Linked DNA regions of Homo sapiens: regions 2, 3 and 4 are each linked to region 1. Evidence: promoter capture Hi-C in 16 types of primary human blood cells and fetal thymus (Javierre and others, 2016). All regions are on one chromosome and are shown on one strand. The core of a region is centred on a gene start or on the middle of the fragment in contact, and the rest is flanking DNA. Distances in the headings are between cores, read along the strand shown.

Region 1 (2,987 bases), core at 442-2,941:
AAACAAACAAACCAAAAAAAAAAAAAAAAAGAGCCCTGAGGCAGAAGCAACATCTCTACCCATTTCTGAGATGCAGCTAAGGGAGAGACTAAGATTCTAAAAGCAACTTAAGAGCAAAAAAGAAAATGTCTTTTGAATTGAGGGAAAACAAAAAATAATAAATATATAAAGGATCACAACCTAAGAATAATATAGTAAATATGAGACTGTTAAAAAACAAAACAAACAACAACAAAAAACCCTGACTCCTGGCTACAGAGTTGAAAAGCCCCTAGACACGTTGAGTAGCTCTTAATTGAGACTGCACTTCATTAACCAGTGAGGTGAGGAAAAACAGGACCTCAGTAAGGGAGTAAAGTCAAAGACTAAATTACAAACAGGCCAAATGAATGGATCTGAGAGGAAGTGATAAAATTCGCAACACACTCAGCCGTGTTTATTGTAGGGAATCACCCCAGGTCTAACTGCCATTGTAATCACCCCGTTCAGGGCAGAAGTCTTCCCACAGGCCCTCAATAACTTCAATCCTTGATAAAAAGCCAAAGGAGCCTGACTTTCCACCTGGGTCAAAATCCCCGCACATCTATTGTTTCGGAGCCAAAGCACCACCACCAGCAACCCCTGCGCACAACCCGGGGCTCTCCAGCACCGCTGTTCTGAATGCCAAGTGCCCAGCACGGGGTCTGGCACAGTTTCCTTAATAAAATGTCCTCTTCTCGTCTCCAGGATGAAACTCAGGATCCGGAAGGCAGCCTTACACCCTCTCCAGACAGGCTCCGTTAGGGGATGAGTGCGCACAAACAGCCCCAGGGGCCAGCCACCCCCTTCCCGTGCCACAACTTCCTGTCCCTTCCATCACTTCCACGCCACGACTCTAGTTTCCATCCAGCTCACAACTGTCATCAAGATCCCAGTCTCTGGAGGAAAGGGGGCAGGGCGGCTTTCCACCCTCAACTCCTCACTTAAGGGGCGTCTGAGAAGAACCTACGAAAGCGGGGGGCAGAAAGCACTGGGACAATGAGCACCAGTCCATGTGCCGACCCGGGCTGGTCACCTACTCCCAGGTGAAACCCACGCTGGGCGCACCGGGGCGAGCCACAGAGCTGCGGCCCCAAAAGAGCAGCAGGCGCGCCCCCCTCGCGTTGACATTTCCCTGGTGTGAAGTGCCGGAGATTGGGATGCAAGAGCGGGATTACGGTCCCGAAGCTCAGCTGCACTTGGAAGCACTCGGAGTCCCCAAACCCTGGGCGACTTCCCCATCGGCGCTCCCTGGAGAGGACTCCTACCGTCCCCGGCTCCCAGAGCTGCGCAGCCGGGCCGAGCCCCCGGCCAGGGTCCTCCGCCGGGCTCTGCGCAAACCTGGCAGGGCCGCTGTCCGCGAACTTGGCCGCGTGGGTCGGGCCGGGACAAGGTGGGGCGCGCACTCACCAACCCCGTACTTCTGCCTCTTGGTCGGGATCCAGCGGGCCATGGCGGCGACCTCGCCCCGCGGCGGCGGCGACTAAGGCTGCTACAGCTCCTCGGGCTCCGGCCGCCGCCGCCCCGCGCTCCTGCGTGCCCCAGACGCTTCCGCCATGTTCCGCCAAACTTCGCTGGACTCCGCGGGCCGCCTCCTCGCCGCGCCGCCCGCGCCCGTGCCCGTGCCCGCGCCGCCCGCGGTCACCTGCTGGGCCGGGCTGCAGCGCAGCAGTGCGCGCCCCTCCTGGCGCCGCCCCAGTCCCTCCCGCCGGCCGCACCCTCCGCCCGCCGGGGCCGCCTCCGAGCCGCGGGCGCCCGGCCTCTCCCGCCCGCGCCGCTCTCTGCGCTCTGCCGGGCGGGGGCCGACTGCGGCTCCGCCTCGCGCGCTTCCCTGGAGCGGCTTCCTGGGCCGGCGGGACTTTGACGCTGGCGGCACTTTGCCTTTCTCCCGCCCTCCCCACCCGGCTGATACCCCGGAGGCTGGGTCCCGGGGGTCCGGCTCCCGACAGAGGGCTGCGCTGGAGGAGCCGGGCACGCCCAGGCCGGGCGGCCGGTGGGCGAGGGATGCGGGCTGCGCTCCCACGGCGCGCGCCGGACACTTGGGGAGCGGAAACGGATCAGCGAGAGCGGCTTCTTGCTCGGGGCACCTCCGGTGCCTGGCACTAAGCGGGCGCGCAATAAATATTTGTTGAATGAATGAGCAGTTGACTTCTGCCTTCACCCCCTGGAGCTTGAACCCGCGCCGCGAGCGGGAGAAGCCGGACTCAGGGCAGACTGAATCTCCCGGGGCCACCGCTTAGAGCCTGGAAAGCAGAACTTTTATCACCGGAGAGCTGGTGCAAGGGAGGTGGGCTCCTCAGAAGTATCAGACCGTTTGCTAGGGGATCCTCTGCAGGGAAATTGTTTAGAAAGCCCTAATTTGGAAGTCCTGTATCCCCAAACTCCGGGGACCCCCCAACCTTAAGCTGAAGAAACTTAGACCCTCATGCCCAGACCTCCCTTTCCCAACCAGCCAGCAGCCCAGAGAGCATTCCCGTGGAGAAAGGGCCAAGGCGCATCCCCGTCTTTTCTCCGTCAACGACTGCCTTTTCTTGACGAAGATCCCAAAGGGGCTGCGCATTTGAACCGCCTTGGGCTCCAGGTGGCGCCCTCTCTGGAGCTCCCCTCTTGGAATTCATTTCTTCCTGGAGAGACTTGGAGAATGAAGATCCAGGGGTTTCTCCCTACCTTGTACCGAGAAGTAACATTGCAAGTAGAGTAAATGACCAGCTTAATTACGTTCACCTTCGAAGAAGATTCCTCTAGAGAGAAATTATATCCTCCTTGCAGCCTGTGAAGGTTTTCATGCGTTTTAGGAATATAAAAGAAAGGAAGACAAACATGTAGTAAAGATAGTAAAGACAGGTAGTTGGCCAGGCGTGGTGGCTCATGCCTGTAATCTCAGCACTTTGGGAGGCCGAGGCGGGTGGATCACCTGAGGTCACGAGTTCCAGACCAGCCTGGCCAACATGGTGAAACCCCTTCTCTAC
Region 2 (3,143 bases), core at 541-3,040, 280 kb before region 1:
TTTTGTCCAGGAGACCCTTGCCCCTATACATCAACACACAGTAGTCATGAAAAAATCAGTAACTTAGAGATAAGCTCTTAAAAAGGTAGTAGTGCCTCACCTCATAGAAAAGTAGATCTTAACTAGAAAAAAAAATTGAGAAATAAAATAAAAAGCTCCTCTAGAAAGCTATTTCTATCCAGGGTCTCATAACTCTAAAAATACCCTCGTTTGGGTTGAGCACTGTGGCACACACCTGTAACCCCAGCACTTTGATAGGGATTGCTTAGGGTCAGGAGTTCAAAATAAGCCTGGGCAACATAGTGAGGCCCCATCTCTACAAAAAAAAATTTTTATAATTAGCCCATTGCTGTGGCACATGCCTATAGTTCCAGCTACTTGGAAAGCTAAGGTGGGAGGATTCCTTGAGCCCAGGAGTTCATTGCTGCGGTGGGCTATGATTGCACCAGTGCATTCCAGCCTGGGCAACTGAGATCCTGTCTCTAAAACAAAGCAAACAAAGAAAAATCACCCATGGTCAACATCATCATTTAGGCTAACTGCATTTTTTTTTTTTTTGAGACAGTCTCACTCTGTCGCCCAGACTGGAACATAGTGGCATGATCTTGACTCAATGCAACCTCTGCCTCCCAGGTTCAAGCAATTCTCGTGCCTCAGCCTCCAAGTAGCTGGAATTTCGGGAACCTGCCACCACACCCAGCTAATTTTCGTATTTTTAGTAGAGATGGGGTTTCACCATGTTGGCCAGGCTGGTCTCGAACTCCTGACCTCAAATGATCTGCCTGCCTCAGCCTCCCAGAGTACTGGGATTATAGGCGTGAGCCACCGCGCCCGGCCGCTAACTGCATGTTCTCTAAAACACAGAGAAAATCTCCCTCCAGATTTGAAACAGAGCAGATGCACTAGAAGGTGTAAAGAAAGCACAAAAGCTTCATTAACGGAATTCACGACAGAACTTAGAAGAAAATCATACCTGGGAAGGAGAATCTTGTGCCAAAGGAGATTTCCTAGCATTCTTTATATTTTGCTGCCGAGCAATGAAACGAATCAGATGGTTTGTTTCAGGAGAGCCCCGAGCACCGACTGCAGAACGTCGTCTACATTTTTTAAGGTAGGATGATGACTTTCCTGTAATGAAACTCTCTTATAAATTGGAACAAAACAAGGCAATCATCAGTAACCACATCCAATACTCGTGATGTACCAGCCTGAGAGAGAAAACATGATAAACATGTGCTACAAAAAACTCAGTGGAGAGTTACTGGCACAGTCATTCATATACAATCAGTGGAAGAGGAATCTTTTTGTCTGCTGACTTAGTCTATGCTCCTAGAACAGTGCCTGGTACATAGAACAGTTATTAAAAGTTGTTGAATAAATACATGAACACATTTTAAGTTTTCATTTTTGTTTCTTATTTCCTACACACAGATGGCTTTTGCTTTTGACTCAGTATTTTTCTTTTTCTAAATAAGTCAGTTTTATCCCCAGCAACTGAAAGGTAAGATCTCCACCTAGGTACATGCAGTCTCAGGTTCTTAATTCTTCAAGATGATTGTTTCTTTCTGATACCTACCATCAGCACTACCCTGAATTTTGGACATATGCCTAAGCACACAAAATGAATCCAGCCTTTTAAAGGTCTAAGAGTGATGTTTTTGAGAATGAAAGTTAGGGTGGCGTGCCACTTTCGCCTTGTCTTATGTATTACCTGGTCTAGTGCCCTGTGATATTCAAGACTTCCATTATCCTCCAATTCTAAATGCTATTCTCTGATCCAATTCCATTCTCATATAGTATTTCCTTCTTTTCCATCTAAGTCAGACTTCACAAGTAAACTTCATTTCTACTGCTCGAAGGACATTAGCCAGAATCAATCTTCTGTTTGTGTTTTTTTTTTTTTTTTTTTTTTTGGAGACAGAGTTTCACTCTTGTTGCCCAGGCTGGAATGCAATGGTGCGATTTCGACTCACGGTAACCTCTGCCTCCCAGGTTCAAGCGATTCTCCTGCCTCAAACTCCTGAGTAGCTGGGATTACAGGCATGCACCACCATGCCCGGCTAATTTTGTATTTTTAGTAGAGACGAGGTTTCTCTATGTTGGTCAGGCTGGTCTCGAACTCCTGACCTCCGGTGATCTGCCTGCCTCGGCCTCCCAAAGCGCTGGGATTACGGGCTTGAGCCACTGAGCCCAACCCTGTTTGTGATTGTTAAAGGAGGTACATCCTGCTCTTTCAGTATTATATTTTCTTAATTGCTCTTAAACTTTCTCTTATTTTTGCCATAAATGAAAACAAAATGCATTATTACTATTCATATCATACACCCTCCTGTATCCTAGGTGACAGGTCAAAAAGTGACTCACACACACATTATTTTCTAGTATTGGCATCAAGCACGACTCTGACTTGGGAACATTATCATGCTGGGTGCCCTGCGATTCCGTGATCCCTGCTATGCTAAATGAACTGTGCATGTGCAAAGAAGTCTCTCTGAAGAAGCAAGTTTGCAGAGTAGGCAATTTAGGTACCTAAAATATGACAGTACGTATAAACAAATAAAGCTGAGTTATATTAAAGTTATTTTTAAACTTGAAAAGCATTACAACAGAATGACAACTTTTCTTACCTGCAGAGTTCCTAACAAAGCTTTCAGGTGTAATTCCCAATTGCTCTACGGTTACTGTGGAAAAGTTCAAAGGTGATTTAAAAGTATCTGGTGTGCAAGGATTAGGAGGTAATTCGGCATGCTTCTGAGGAGTCACAATCTTCCCAGTTCCCAAAATGAAAGAGGCATTTCCTGAAACGGACGACATATTGTAGGGGTGAGGACAACTCTCTGTCTAAACCTTCAACTTCACAAGGAGGCAGATCATCACATACCAGCATTATTCATTGCAGACTCCTTGGTTTCAGGGGGCTTGTCTTTTGAATTGGCATCCATCTAAGAGGTGAAGAAAAACAATGAAAAATAACCCCACCAGCAAGATGAACGTGATTCGATCACGTACCTTATTCAGGACTGAATTGTAATACAGTCCATACTGGCATAGAAACACACGTCACAGGTTTCATTTTTTATTTTAATTTCTGTGGGTATACAGTAGATGTATAATTTATGGGGTACATGAAATATTTTGATACA
Region 3 (3,056 bases), core at 112-2,611, 310 kb before region 1:
CAGATTACCTGAGGACAGGGGTTTGAGACCAGCCAGGCCAACATAGTGAAACCCCGTCTCTACTAAAAATACAAAAATTAGCTGAGCATGGTGGTGCACACCTGTAGTCCCAGCTACTGGGGAGGCTGAGGCAGGAGAATCACTTGAACCGGGGAGGAGGAGGTTGCAGTGAGCCGAGATCGTGCCACTGAACTCCAGCCTGGGCGACAGAGCGAGACTCCATTCCAACAAAACAAAACAAAACAAAATGTAATTCAACAAAACACAAAAACCATGATGGCAATTTTCCCTAGTATCTCCTCAAAGTTCAAATTTCTCCCTTGGCCCATAATTTCTTTTTCTAAAACAACTGTTCTAATCAGGACCCCAATAAGATCTCCACACATACCATTTGATTCATGTCTTTTAGTCTCTTTTATTCTATGGCTCCTTTTTTACTTCCCTTGACATTTATTTGGTGAGTAAATTGAGGCATTTTTCCTATAGAATTAGCCAAGTCCTAGATTTGGCTCACTACAGTAGGTGAGTCTATGTTCCTCCATGTCCTATAAATTGGTAATTAGATCTAGAAGCTTGATTAGATTCAGTTTTGATGGGCAAATTTGAATACAATTGTATAACCAACAAATTAAAAATTGCATATAGCATGGTGGATGAGAGGTTTTGACATATGTACACATTGGGAAATGATTAAACTAACATATCCACCACTTCACATAATTATTTTATGGCAAGAACACTTACAATGTCATCTCTTAGCAATTTTCCCATATACATTATTATTTCCTAGTCACCATGCTGTACAACAGATCTCCAGAACTTACTCATCCTAACTGAAACTTTGTACCCTTGAACCAACATCTCCTCATCCCCCACCACTCAAGCCACTAGCCCCCCTGACAACCACCATTCTATTCTCAGCTTCTGTGAGTTTTTTTTTTTTTTATTTTTTATTTTTTAAAGATTCCACATGTAAGTAAGATCTTCTTGTCTCTCTGTGCCTGGACTATTTTACTTAACGTAATGCCCTTAAGGTCCTTCTATGCTGTCAAAATGACAGGATTTCTTTAAGGCTGAATAGCATTTTGTTGTGTGTGTACACACATATTTTTTCTTTATCCATTCACCTGTTGATGGATACTCAGCTTGAGTCTGTAACTTGGTTATCGCTCTTTGATATACTGATTTCCTTTGGATACATACCCAGAAGTGGGATTTGCTGGATCATATGGTAGTTCTATTTTTAATTTTTTGAGGAACCCCCGTAATGTTTCCCACAATGGCTTGTGAAAATGGATTATTTGGAGTCACTGTGTCATAAACAACTAGAGTCCAGAGACCAGGGGAAAAAAAGCACTTGGGACTGTAAGACTAAATTTAACTACCACCATCACTCACCAGAGTTTACCAGCTCCCCAAAATTTTGCTTAGGGCCAGTGAGTTTTTTTTCTAAATAATATGTAACATTTCTTTTTCTACTAAAAACCCCAACTTTCTACGTTCTTAGGACATATCAAAGACCACCTCGGTCTGTGTGTTTGCCCCAAACTGCAATTACGTTTTCCCAAATAAAACATTTTGTTTAGAGATTCAGTTCTATATTTTTAGTTGACTTTGCCAATCAAAACAGGCTGTAGCAATTTACATTCCTATTGATAGTGTACAAAGGATTCCCTTTTCTCCATATCCTCTCCAACACTTGTAATCTTTCATCTGCTTGATAATAGCCAGTGATATCTCATTGTGGTTTTAATTTGCATTTCCCTGATGATTAGTGATGTTAGCCATTTGCATGTCTTTTGAGAACTGTCTATTCTGGACCTTTGACCATTTTTAAATTGGTGTGTTCTTGCTAATGAGCTGTTTGAGTTTCTTATACATTTTGGCTATTAACCCCTTATCAGATGTATGGTTTGTAGTTACAGTATCTTCTCCCATTCTATACGGTGTTTCTTTCCTCTGTTGATTGTTACTATGTCACATCAGCCTTTTATCAAACGTTTTAAGCAGCTTTGTTGAGCATTTCTTTTATTACCTGAAATTCTTCTATAAACAACTTTTCCCTCATCAACTATTTGTTTACCTGAAATAGAGCTCAAATTTTATTTTCCTGTTATCAGAAAAATGAGTGGGTATCCTAGCAAGCTTCTAAAGTGTCCATTAATTAAAAAAAAGTAATAAACTTATGTGTTATTTCATGATTGTACTTCAATGCTTTGCAATGCTGATGATCATATCTGGTCAGTGTAAGTCCCTTGAAGATGGATTTGTGTCTGTTAACATGACACCAGTAGTTTTTTTTAGCATCCTTCCTTGTACTCTGGTACAGACCCAACCAGGCTCACTTATTAAATTTGTTGTTGTAAATCTGAAAGCAGCCATTTCACCAAGGGACCCTAACCCCTTTTAACTGGTATGTCTAATGATAATCTATGCACCAGGGATGCTCATGAATTTTAAGCTTTATCAATGGATAGAGCTGGACAATTCTTTTAAATGGAAAATAAAATGAGTTTCTACTCTTATTTCCAATTCAAATTTAGTCTTCCAAAGTTTTAAATTTGTTGGATTTAAAAATATATCTTTTGTCTCTGAGTGCACATCTTGATTCTTAATGATGGGAAAAATTGCTTATTTGCTTTATTCTAAATTCAGTGCTTCTATTGAGTGTTTCATACTGTTTATAATTTCTTTGCAGTTATTTTTGTCCTTAAGATTTATCCCCCTTATAGGGCCAGGCGCAGTGGCTCACGCCTGTAATCCCAGCACTTTGGGAGGCCGAGGTGGGCGGATCACGAGGTCAGCAGATCGAGACCATCCTGGCTAACATGGTGAAACCCAGTCTCTACTAAAAAATAAAAAATAAAAAATTAGCCGGGCGTGGTGGCAGGTGCCTGTATTCCTAGCTACTCGGGAGGCCGAGGCAGGAGAATGGCATGAACCCGGGAGGCGGAGCTTGCAGTGAGCCGAGCTCACGCCACTGCACTCTAGCCTGGGTGACAGAGCAAGACTCCATCTCAAAAAAAAAAAGATTTATCCCACTTATATTCAAATTT
Region 4 (3,198 bases), core at 18-2,517, 260 kb before region 1:
GGAATAGTTCCTATAAGCAACAGATAATTAATGTGATTTTTAGATTTTGATGGTAGCTTTTTAAATTTTGATTTCCCCAGGGATGATGATGTTTTGTTTGTTTGTGAAGGAGAGCCATTTATTGGTAAGTGACTTTAAAAGCCAATTTTATCTGCCAAAAAAAAAAAAAAAAGATGGAATGACAATTATTTTAAATGGGGCTATTAAGCTTAAACATTAAAAATGATCTTATGGCTGTATTCAAATCTTCACACTTTTTGATTCTGCATTGGGTATGTTAAAGTAAATTTTTTACTATATGATCGTAGTTTATTATAGATGCATGTTTTACATGCCGTTAAAATGCTCTGGAGGTATACATATTCATTAACTGTAACATAGTAAGGTAGTTTTGATCTTAGAAACAATTGTTTTGTTTGAAAATTTTTTCTTTGATGGTGAATGTCAAAATTTTTCTACGTGTTGTATTACATATTTGTGAGTAAATATTGCTTGCGTAAGTAGTGTTTGACAGTATTTCACAGTGATCAGATCAGCCAAAAAATGACTTGGTATCAACCACACACACAGGTGTGCACACACACTACCCTTTGATTTGGAAGAAAGCTTATAGTTGTATATCTCAAAAGAAAAGGCCGAAAGGAAGATAAAGTATTTGATTTATTTAGATCCATACAGTCCACACTCTGAATATTTAAGTATTTTTTAAAGCATCATACTAATTGCATTTGGTGAGTGGAAGTAGTTCTCACGATTGTTGCACAGGCAATTGTCAACTTAGAAGTAAGTGCATACTCTTGTCTGTCTGTCTCTACCTTAAAACTGTAAGCAAGAACTTCTCATCTTCTTTTATCCATTGGCCTAACAGTGACTGGCAGGCAATGGTCACTTAATTGGTCCACTGCATACAAACACAATAAAAAATGATCAATTAAGGTTTTTTTATTGTTATTAACTCATGGATTTAAAAATATTTGGTATATTTTCATCCTCTGCATTTATTGATGTTCAGATGGTCTTAATTTTTTGCCACTGGAAATCTCTTCGGGTCTTTTTAACAAACCTTGTTGGATTTTATGGCTTTCTTATTATCTGGAATAACTGGTGTTCATCTTAAAACCTTTTCCTGTCTCAGACCTGGATCAACATTTTTCCAACAAGCCTTGATTTTTTTAGTGGGAAGTGTCATTCCAAGACAAATCTGGGTGCTAGGGAGGCTCTTCGCTATTGGGTTCATTATTGTTGCTATGCCTTTTGGTGGACAGAATTGAAAATATATAGGTAGAGATAAAATTTGTATATAATGTATGTTATAGGATATAAAGTTTATATGTCATATATAACAAAATATGGATAGATGAAATAACTCATGGCTTCATAGTAGTACTTAAAGTTTATATTAAGGATTATAAGGTTTTTACTTATCCTCTTCTGTCTTACATCTGTGTCTCCTTTTTCTATATCAATAGTCCTGACTTTCAGGGACATGGAGACTAATAGAATTATAATGTCACATAATTACTCATTTACTTTACCCCATACAGAACACATCTAAAAATGTCAGAGTAACAAACTCAATACTTTCAGTACCAATATAATTACTAAAAACAGTTAAATGTTTTTCATATGCTAAATCCCTTCTCCCCTTACTTAAAAATAATTGTATTGTTTCTGAATTGTCGGAACATATAGCCATTGTATATTATAGTGTCTCCCTTTATACACTCATTTAGTTTTACTTCTTCAAGCGTACACTTACCTCCAGTCCTTTTGTTATGTTTCCAGTGTTTATCTGAAACTTGTTCTCTAGTAGATTTCTCTCCAAGATACTATGAGAACAATATTCGGTGACATCTTCCAATGGCAAGATGCCATTGCCATCCACCATCTTTATATAATTTTGGTATAAAATTATATGTCAAAGCTTATTAAATTATAAACTTTAGTATGTGTAACTTGTTCTGTGTTAATTATACCTCAGTGAAGCTATTGAAAAATCCTTGGTTCACATTATTTTTCTTTGAATATCTTAAATATGTTACTGCATTTTATTCTGGCCTGAGGTGTTGGTCTCAAAAAATCTGATCTTTCTTATGTGATTATTTTTCATAGATCACCCAAAGGATATTTCTCTTTCTTTAAAGTACAGTAATTTTAGTAGAATATTTATTGGTGTTCTGAGTTGTTCTGGATTGGTTTTCTCAGTATGTGATGGATCCTTTCAATATATAGTTTCAAGTGTATGTATTTTAAAATTTCAGTACAGTTCTCTTGAAGTTGACATTTTTATTTTGTTCACTTTGATTTGATTTCCTTCTTTCAGGACTCTATTGTATGTAGGGTGGATCTTTTACACTTGTCTTTTATGTTTGAAACTTTCTTTTCCTTTCTTTTTATTTTATTTATTTTTTTGAGACAGGGCCTCACTTCATCACTCAGGCTGTAGTGCAGTGGTATGATCTTGGCTCACTACAGCTTCAACCTCCTGGGTTCAAGTGATCCTCCTGCCTCAGCCCCCAACCAGGAGCTGGGACTGCAGATGTGTGCTACCATGCCCGGATAATTTTTTTGTATTTTTTGTAGAGATGGGGTTTTGGGGTTTTGCCCTGTTGCCCAGGCTGGTCTCGAACTCCTGAGCTCAAGCAATCCACCCGCCTCGGCCTCCCAGAGGATTATAGGCATGAGCCACCACGTCTGACCATTTCTTTTTAATTTTTCAAGCTATTCTCTTTTTTACCTTTTCTTTCCCTTAAGTCATTGTCTATTGTGTTTAATCACTCTTGTATTTCTTTTGCTTTAGTCTTTAAAAATCATTTTTCTTTTATTTCTAATTCTCTTGGGAGTTCTTGCTACTCATTTCTGAATTTTTAAATCCTGGTTTATATTGTTGTTTTATACCTTGTATAAACTTCTTTTAGCATGTTTTGGAATATTAGATTATAATTTTGATCTATTTTGTGGGTATTTCTGGCATGTTTTCATTATCTATAAGGACAATTATTATTTTAACACTTTTGTATTAACATTTGATCAGTCTTTTTGTATTGCTCATTTTTATATGAAATTAGTTTTTCTTAACTTGAAAAGAGGGCTGACAGGACAGTTTTTCCAATTTCATGGCTCTAGAGTTCCCTTTTCTGTTGTTTTTGTGAAGTGTTTAAAATACACAGAACTCATTTTCTGATATATTCTGGTCTA

What was found. Contacts are between HindIII fragments. The CHiCAGO score rates a contact against its expected background, and 5 or more counts as called.
Region 2: a contact is called between a fragment that was not itself captured here and the fragment with the promoter of DOCK5 in region 1, in 8 of 17 cell types (neutrophils, megakaryocytes, erythroblasts and 5 more). The highest score is 12.1, in neutrophils.
Region 3: a contact is called between a fragment that was not itself captured here and the fragment with the promoter of DOCK5 in region 1, in 1 of 17 cell types (endothelial precursors). The highest score is 6.3, in endothelial precursors.
Region 4: a fragment that was not itself captured here is called in contact with the fragment with the promoter of DOCK5 in region 1 in 4 of 17 cell types (neutrophils, monocytes, megakaryocytes and 1 more); the score reaches 9.6 in neutrophils.

What each region holds. Positions count from the first base shown.
Region 1 is chr8:25,183,393-25,186,379 of GRCh38, reverse strand. It overlaps DOCK5 (dedicator of cytokinesis 5), which reads right to left and starts at 1,691. Exons shown (of 52, transcript NM_024940.8): 1 at 1,429-1,691. The coding sequence starts at 1,471. LOC124901912 (a long non-coding RNA gene) reads left to right here and starts at 2,003. Exons shown (of 2, transcript XR_007060861.1): 1 at 2,003-2,987. RefSeq lists silencers at 1,394-1,443, 1,614-1,783, 1,794-1,873. The HindIII fragment of the contact is 10,671 bases long and covers 1-2,987 here.
Region 2 is chr8:25,460,039-25,463,181 of GRCh38, reverse strand. CDCA2 (cell division cycle associated 2) reads right to left here. Exons shown (of 15, transcript NM_152562.4): 2 at 2,882-2,942; 3 at 2,628-2,798; 4 at 974-1,128. The coding sequence starts at 2,942. Among named protein-coding and RNA genes, the nearest start is that of CDCA2, 2.4 kb to the right of the region's middle. The HindIII fragment of the contact is 1,718 bases long and covers 932-2,649 here.
Region 3 is chr8:25,495,396-25,498,451 of GRCh38, reverse strand. The region is part of intron 13 of CDCA2 (cell division cycle associated 2); the gene reads right to left. Among named protein-coding and RNA genes, the nearest start is that of CDCA2, 38 kb to the right of the region's middle. The HindIII fragment of the contact is 1,573 bases long and covers 575-2,147 here.
Region 4 is chr8:25,441,218-25,444,415 of GRCh38, reverse strand. KCTD9 (potassium channel tetramerization domain containing 9) reads left to right here. Exons shown (of 12, transcript NM_017634.4): 3 at 81-124. Among named protein-coding and RNA genes, the nearest start is that of KCTD9, 16 kb to the left of the region's middle. The HindIII fragment of the contact is 1,318 bases long and covers 609-1,926 here.